3 separate regions of the Homo sapiens genome follow, and all the other regions are linked to region 1. Evidence: promoter capture Hi-C in 16 types of primary human blood cells and fetal thymus (Javierre and others, 2016). All regions are on one chromosome and are shown on one strand. Each heading gives the region's core, a stretch centred on a gene start or on the middle of the fragment in contact. The rest is flanking DNA. Distances are from core to core; before and after follow the strand shown. Region 1 holds the start of KRT82 (keratin 82). Region 2 has its middle 19 kb from the start of KRT18. Region 3 has its middle 17 kb from the start of EIF4B.

What was found. Contacts are between HindIII fragments. The CHiCAGO score rates a contact against its expected background, and 5 or more counts as called.
Region 2: a contact is called between a fragment that was not itself captured here and the fragment with the promoter of KRT82 in region 1, in 7 of 17 cell types (M2 macrophages, M1 macrophages, M0 macrophages and 4 more). The highest score is 10.4, in M2 macrophages.
Region 3: a fragment that was not itself captured here is called in contact with the fragment with the promoter of KRT82 in region 1 in 3 of 17 cell types (M2 macrophages, M0 macrophages and naive CD8 T cells); the score reaches 6.1 in M2 macrophages.

Annotation. Positions count from the first base shown.
Region 1 is chr12:52,405,056-52,407,755 of GRCh38, forward strand. KRT82 (keratin 82) reads right to left here and starts at 1,280. Exons shown (of 9, transcript NM_033033.4): 1 at 812-1,280. The coding sequence starts at 1,222. The HindIII fragment of the contact is 6,676 bases long and covers 1-2,700 here.
Region 2 is chr12:52,967,193-52,969,892 of GRCh38, forward strand. No RefSeq gene overlaps it. Among named protein-coding and RNA genes, the nearest start is that of KRT18, 19 kb to the left of the region's middle. The HindIII fragment of the contact is 7,174 bases long and covers 1-2,700 here.
Region 3 is chr12:52,987,862-52,990,561 of GRCh38, forward strand. No RefSeq gene overlaps it. Among named protein-coding and RNA genes, the nearest start is that of EIF4B, 17 kb to the right of the region's middle. The HindIII fragment of the contact is 7,088 bases long and covers 1-2,700 here.

The sequences.
Region 1 (2,700 bases), core at 30-2,529:
AGCCTCCCTGGGGCGTGGGATGGACCCAGAGGCTGTTGAGTCCTTCAGCACCTTCAGAAGGCATGCCACATCTTTTCCTGCAGTGGGTGCTGTACTGTAGATGTGGGAATCTGCGCTCTTCCTGCAGTGGGTGCTATACTGTAGATGTGGGAATCTGCACTGTTCCTGCAGTGGGTGCTGTGCTGTAGATGTGGGAATCTGCACTGTTCCTGCAGTGGGTGCAGATTCAGTTCAGCACCTTCTGAAGGCATGCCTTCCTAGCAGCCTTTCAGTGGCTCTGGAGATGACAGATGTAAGACTTTTGTGACCGTCACCCTGTGCCTCTAGCTCTGACTGTCCACTTTCCTCTCATCCCAGGCCTAAAATGATTGGAAACTCTGAGGTCACAGTGTCCATCCTCACCTTCAGGCTCAAGAGTTGTGACACAGCTCAGGCACACAGAAGGCGGTTCTACTGTTAAAGCCTCATCAGGAAGGGCATTTCTCTGCCTCTCTGGTCATTCCTTTCAGTATTGCTTTGGAAGTTCCTCTTATAGTCTGACCTCAGGCAACCTTGGTGATTGGTGATTTTGTCAGATAATATTCAGAGAAAGATGATATATTTTAAGAAAGACAAGGAAGCAGAAATGTTTAGTGCAGAATCTGATCTAACTGGCTTTCAAAGGCTGGTGGTCGTGGAATGTGAGGGAGGCCACTGGATAAACTGAGGCCTCCTCAATGTCAGTCTCCTCCTGGTTCCCTTGGACCAGAACAAGACCAGACCCCAGATCTGCAGTGGGTCCTCTCACGGCCCTGGGCCACTGCCCCCTTACCTTGTTGATGAAAGATGCGAAACGGTTGTTGAGGCACTTGATCTGCTCCTTCTCATCCCTCTTTACCCTCTGCACAGTCGGGTCTATCTCCAGTGCCAGTGGGACCAGCAGGCTCTCATTGATGGTGACAGGGGTGATGCAGGCAGAAGGCCCACAGGTGGCTCCCAGTCGGTACCCGAAGCCAGGCAGGGTACCTCCACACCTGGAGGCTACCCGGGGCCTCCCAAAGCCCACGTTGCACAGGCTCCGTGAGCCAAGGCAGCCCAGAGCTCGGAGGCCCCTACCACCCCCGGGCCGGCATGGCCCCTTGCTCACTGCATAGTGGGTGACCATCCGGGGCATGACAGCCGAGTATGAGCTGAAACTCTGACTGCCACACCTGGAGCCTGGCTGGAAAGAGTGGTACGACATGGCAGGAGAGAGAGGCAGAGAAATGCGGCCCTGGAGGAAAGAACCGGGGCAGGATGATCAAGTCAGGCTCAGCTTCCCCCCTTTTATCTGGTAGGGGGATGGAGGACTGAGATGTGTCAAACCCCAAATCACCATTAAACTAGGTTTATGAGCTTGGGATATTGGCAGAGCTAAGTAGCAAGGTGGATAATTAGGGTAGCGAAGAGCAAAGAGAAGGGGCCAATGGTCAGTGCTGGTGGGCCCTATAAAAATCCTATTTGTCCTCCTTCCTTGATTGTGGGGGTGATGAAAGGGGCCAACCAGACAGATATGTTCCATGTATCCAGTGGCTCAGCCTCAAGGAAAGGGAGAGTTGGGACTACGTCATTTCATAGGAGGGGAGGCGTGCCATGAATTATACACCCTGGCTTCTCTGGGATTAGAGGGCAAGTCCCATATGCTTAAAGATGCTCTGGCTCTTTCCCCAAGGCTGCTCCTAGGCTTTTTTGCAGATCCTCAACCCAAGTGCCCTCTGTGGGCTCCTAGGTGAGTCAGGAAGTTCCCAGGAGGAAGGCTTTTGGGGTGGGAGAATCCTCCCTACAACAGGCCGGACCTTAACCCTCCTGAGCTCTGGCTCAGTGACCCACTGTCCCATGAGGGTCTTGAAGGTAGACAGACTCCAGGCATAGACACTTTTCTACAGGGCCCATCAGTCCACAAAGGCTGCAGGGAACTCAAGAGGAGAGGCCTGGTGCTTGAGAAGGGCAGAGGAAGGGACGCTCTCCTCAACACTTCTGGGGCCCCCAGAAGGCATGATTTCAGCATCAGGTCTCGGCTTCCATGTGGCTGTTCCTTTCCCCTTTTGCCCAACCCAGCCTGAGTGTCCCTGAGGTCAACAGAGCCAGCTTTGGCCTGAGGATGTCTCTGGGGAGAGTTGTTGCCCTTGGGAATTTTCAGGTGGAGGTGGGATTCAGGTTTTCTTTCCAGCTCAGGTCGCAGACACAGCTCTTTGGAGATGTCTGAAGCCCCCGCCTCACTCTCTTTCCTCCTCTTTTCCATCAATTTCATCAGTGAAACTTTTGCCATGGCCGAATGGCCTTTCCCTTCCACACTGAGACTTATCACCAGGTCAAAATCAAACCAATAATAATAATAATAACAATAATAAACATTTATTGGGCATTTATTGTGTGTTGGGACCACTCCGTACTCTTTACATCCATGGTCTCATTTAATTCTCTGACCACACAATGAGATAGTTACTATGCCACAGACAGGAAAATGGGAAGCACAGCAGTTAAGAGCAACATCCCCAAGTCACACAGCTTGTGGCTGATCAGCTGGGAGTCCATCCTGTTCCTTTTGACTTCACCCTGCCATGCTGCTCCACAGCAGGGAAGCCCAGGTGAGGAATTGGGAATCTGCTGCCCATAAATGTTCTGTTGTCCCTGTCCGTCAGCCTTCCAACCTGTGGATTAGGAGACTGGAACTCAAAGGTT
Region 2 (2,700 bases), core at 120-2,619, 560 kb after region 1:
AGGCGTGGTGGTGCATGCCTGTAATCCTAGCTACTTGGGAGGCTGAGGCAAAAGAATCACCTGAACCCGGGAGGCGGAGGTTGCAGTGAGCCAAGTTTGTGCCATTGCACTCCAGCCTGGGTGACAAGAGTGAAACTCCATTCTCAAAAAAATAAATAAATAAAATAAAATAAATAAACAGATGGTTCAAGTTTGGCCTCTCCCAGTAGGAATCCTCTTTGTGGCCTTCCTAACATCTGGCCTCCGTTTGAAGAATTTATGACAGTATAGCCCCTGTTGGATAATAATTGTATAATTACTGGAACATTATTGTTCCTTCTACTGGGCTGAAATCTGCCTCCTACTAACCTTCTAAACTCAGCTCTGCCCACTAGAGTTACACAGAACTCCCTCTTCCATTAGATTTCAGCCATAAGTGATTATTCTTCCCCTAACCTGTATAAAAGCAGCCCCAGTCACGGTGTAAGGATTTAGCTGCACTGCTGGCCTCAACCTCACCTGCCTGAATGAGCTGGAAAATAATTATCTACACAGAAACAGCCCAAGGAATTAGAATGATAGTGATGCTCAGATCCGGGGAGGCTGTGTCCCCCTGAAGGCCCTGGTCAGATCCTGGTGAAGTGGATGGTGCTGCCACAGGAGGGATGTAGGGTAAACTTCTCAGAGACTCAGGGCACTCCAGTGATCTGGGCCCAAAGCACACAGTTCCTTTTCCTCTCCCCACAATCCACACTGGAGCAGCAGGCTCTAGTGGGCCCCTCCCAGGCTGGCAGAACTTTCCCTATCACCCACTCCCCAGAAGCAAAAAAAGTTTAAAAAGCACCAGCCTAAGGCTGGGTGCAGTGGCTCATGCCTGTAATCCCAGCACTTTGGAAGGCTGAGGCGGGCAGATCACAAGGACAGGAGTTCAAGACGTGCCTGACCAACATGGTAAAACCCCGTCTCTACTAAAAATACAAAAATTAGCCAGGCATGGTGGTGCATGCCTGTAATCCCAGCTACTCGGGAGGCTGAGGCAGGGGAATTGCTTGAACCCGAGAGGCAGAGGTTGCAGTGAGCCAAGATCATGCCATTGCACTCCAGCCTGGGCAATGGAGCAAGACTCCGTCTCAAAAAAAATAAATTATTGTACATTTAAAAATAACTAAAAGAGTATAATTGGATTGTTTGTAACATAAAGGATAAATGCTTGAAGTGATGGATGCCCTGATGAGATTATTATGCATTGTATGCCTGTATCAAAATATCTCGTGTACCCTAAAATAGATACACATACTGGGTACCCACAAAAATTAAAAACTTTTTTTTTTTTGAGACAGAGTTTCACTCTTGTTGCCCAGGCTGGAGTGCACTGGCTCAATCTCGGCTCACTGCAACCTCCGCCTCCCAGGTTCAAGTGATTCTCCTGCCTCAGTCTTCCGAGTAGTTGGGATTACAGGCGCCCACCACCACACCTGGCTAATTTTTTTTTTTTTTTTTTTTTTTTGGATTTGGAGTAGAGACGGGGTTTCGCCATGTTGGCCAGACTGGTCTCGAACTCCTAACCTCAGGTGATCCACCTGCCTCGGCCTCCCAAAGCGCTGGGATTACAGGCATGAGCCACCAGACTCAGCCAAAATTAAAAACTTTAAAAAATAAATTAATAACCACAGCAGTAGCTAGTAGCTAATGGCTACCAGATTGGACAGGACAGTGCAGCACCAGACTGTAAGCTCCCTTTGAGCAGAGACTGGACTATCTTGTTCACTCTTATGCCCTGATACATAACACAATTCCAACACATAAACAGCAGGTTGTTATTTTCTTTTTTAAAGACAAAAATTTGAAATTGTAATTTTTATTAAATTGTAAATAAAATGTTATTTTATTTTATTTAATAACCTATAGCATTTGCCAATATCCAAGGTATAAATACTGCTGTCATGGTTGATTTAAAATGGTTTAATTCTGGGAAGCAAAATTTTCAAATTTAACAATCTTCTCTTACTAGCTTTTGAATGAATAAGCAAATGAATGAACAAATAAATGAGCAAATAACAAACCAAGAGGAGTCTCTGCATGCCTCACCCAAGGAAAAGAGGACAAAGGAGAGTAGAAGAATATTTCAAGATGCCAGCAGTCCTCTCACTCTCTTTGCAGGTCCTCTTTGTTCCAGGAAAGAGAACTTAGTGGGAGAACAATTGAACTTCCTCAGCTTCGCTTCACACACACCCCAGCTTTAAGAAAGCCCAGGAAGAATTTGTTTTTTTTTTTTTTTTTGAGACGGAGTCTTACTCTGTCACCCAGGCTGGAGTGTAGTGGCGTGGTCTCGGCTTCTCAGCTCACTGCAACCTCCACCTCCCAGATTCAAGCGATTCTCCCGCCTCAGCCTCTCCAGTAGCTGGGATTACAGGTGTGCACCACCACGCCCAGCTAATTTTCGTATTTTTAGTAGAGACAAGGATTTCACCACGTTGGCCAAGCTGGTCTCAAACGCCTGACCTCAAATGATCCACCTACCTCGGCCTCCCAAAGTTCTGGGATTACAGACATGAGCCACCTCACCTAGCCTTTGGATTACAGACATGAGCCACCTCGCCTAGCCTTTTTTTCTTTTTAAGGAAAAAAAGAAAAATAAAATCTCATCTTAATCTGCTCCATTTTTTTTTCTTTTTAAAGAAACTTTCCCAAGTCACTTAAACAGTCTTCGTAATGGGAAGG
Region 3 (2,700 bases), core at 186-2,685, 580 kb after region 1:
GAGACCAGCCTGGCCAACATGGTGAAACCCCGTCTCTACTAAAACTACAAAAATTAGCCAGGTGTGGTGGCGGGTGCCTGTAGTCCCAGCTACCCGGGAGGCTGAGGCAGGAGAATCGCTTGAACCCAGGAGGCGGAGGTTGCAGTGAGCCAAGATCGTGCCACTGCACTCCGGCCTGGGCAACAGAGCGAGACTCCATCAAAAAAAAATACAAAAATACAAAAATTAGCTAAGCATGGTGGTACATGCCTGTAATCCCAGCTACTTGGGAGACTGAGGCAGGAGAATTACTTGAACCCAGGAAGCGGAGGTTGCAGTGAGCTGAGATCATGCCATTGCACTCCAGCCTGGGTGACAAGAGCGAAACTGTGTCTCAGAAAAAAAAAAAGAAAGAAAGAGATGTTTGTTGTTGGCCGGGCGCGGTGGCTCACGCCTGTAATCCCAGCACTTTTGGAGGCCGAGGTGAGTGGATCACCTGAGATCACCTGAGGTCAGGAGTTCGAGAGTAGCCTGGCAAACCTGGTGAAACCCCGTCTAAAAATATAAAAATGAGCCAGGTGTGGTGGTGGGTCCCTGTAGTCCCAGCTACTCCGGAGGGCTGAGGCAGGAGAATTGCTTGAACCTGGGAAGTGGAGGTTGCAGTGAGTCGAGATTGCACCAGCCACTGCACTCCAGCCTGGGCGACAGAGTGAGACTCCGTCTCAAAAACAAAAAAGAAATGTTTGTTGTTTAAGCCACCCTGTCTATAGTAATTTGTTACAGCAGAACTGACTAAGACAGACACAAGATCAAGGTGGGAGAAAGTGTAACTTGACCCAGCTCTGTGATGAGTTTATCCATAGCTCCTTCCTCTATTACATTTACCTTTGATTTGTCTATTAGATAATACTCCACTATTTATATATTCATTACTCATTTATCCACAGATATACAATAAAAACATTAATCAGGTGAATTACTTTCTTATCAATACCTGCCAAGAAAATACAACTAACTATAAATTTGTAATAAACTCCCAAGGGGCAGAGGTTGGGTTTTTAGTTGCTTCTCAAACATACCCCATCATTCAAAAGTCTGAACTGGAAAGTAAGAAGGAAAAGAAGGAGAACTTTAGTATGCTAGTGTCAAACAAGCCTGTCCTAATAAGCAACCCCAAACTGCTCTCCTGTCTGGGTCCAGAATTGGGTTTGGTTTTGAAATACCACGTGGGAAATTTCTAGCCAAAGTCCTCACCAGTTCCTCCTTTGACTAACAATCTCCAACCCAGGAAGTGGGAACTACAGAGTCTTTGGTAGAGGTGGTTGGATTTACTCAAGAAAAAGCCCCACCTGAACTCCCCAAGCAGAAATCTTCATTAGAAAAATAAACAAAACGACCGGGCGTGGTGGCTCATGCCTGTAATCCCAGCACTCTGGGAGGCCGAGGCAGGCGGATCACGAAGTCAAGAGATCGAGACCATCCTGGCCAACATGGTGAAACCCCATCTCCACTAAGAATACAAAAATTAGCTGGGCGTGGTGGCACACGCCTGTAGTTCCAGCTACTCAGGAGGCTGAGGCAGGAGAATTGCTTGAACCCGGGAGGCAGAGGTTGCAGTGAGCTGAGATCACACCACTGCACTCCAGCCCAGTGACAGAGCAAGACTCTGTCTCAAAAAAAAAAAAAAAAGTAGAAGAACATTAAAAAAACAGGTTTAGGCTGGGTGCAGTGGCTCACACCTGTAATCCCAGCACTCTGAGAGACCAAGGCAGAAGGATCACTTGAGGCCAGGAGTTTGAGATCAGCCTGGGCAACATAGCAAGACACCCATCTATACAAAAAATTTTAGAAGTTAACTGGGTGTGGTGGTGCATGCCTGTAGTCCAGCTACTCAGGAGGCTGAGGCAGGAGGATTGCTTGAGCCCAGGAGTTCAAGGTTGCAGTAAGCCATGATTGCACCACTGCACCCTAGTGTGGGCAACAGAGCAAGACTCTGACTCTAAAAAACAACAAAAACTGCTGGACGTGGTGGCTCATGCCTGTAATCCCAGCACTTTAGGAGGACGAGGTAAGTGGATCACCTGAGGTCAGGAGTTTGTGACCAGCCTGACCAACATGGCGAAACCCCATTGCTACTAGAAATACAAAAATTAGCCAGGCATGGTGGTACACACCTGTAGTCTCAGCTACTCAGGAGGCTGAGGCAGGAGAATTGCTTGAACCCAGGAGGTGGAGGTTGCAGTGAGCCAAGGTCGCACCACTTCACCTCAGCCTGGGCAACAGAGCGAGACTCCGTCTCAAAAAAAAAACACACACACACACACACACAAAAACAAACAACAAAAAAAAACCAAAACAGAAATGAGGTTTACATGTTACAAGGCCCTGAAGAAGAGGAAAAAAACTGTGTATAAAATACCACCTGGATAAAATAAGCCAAATACACAACTAAATGGGAGACCAGGCCAACAGGATGTCTTGGGAAGATGTCTTGAAGTAGGAGGGGCTTCTCCTGCAAAGGATTTGGCAAGACTAAGAGGGAGCAGGCATTCCAGATGAAGAGAATGATGAGTAACATGGAAAAGCCCAGCGTCCGCTCCGGGCCAGGCAGAAGTTGAGGTGACAGATATAGTAGGAAAAGCAAGCTGAGGGCAGTTCATGCAGAGCTTTCAATGCTGGAGAGTAGGGCCTTGGAAAGAGATGTGGTGACACAGTAAGAGC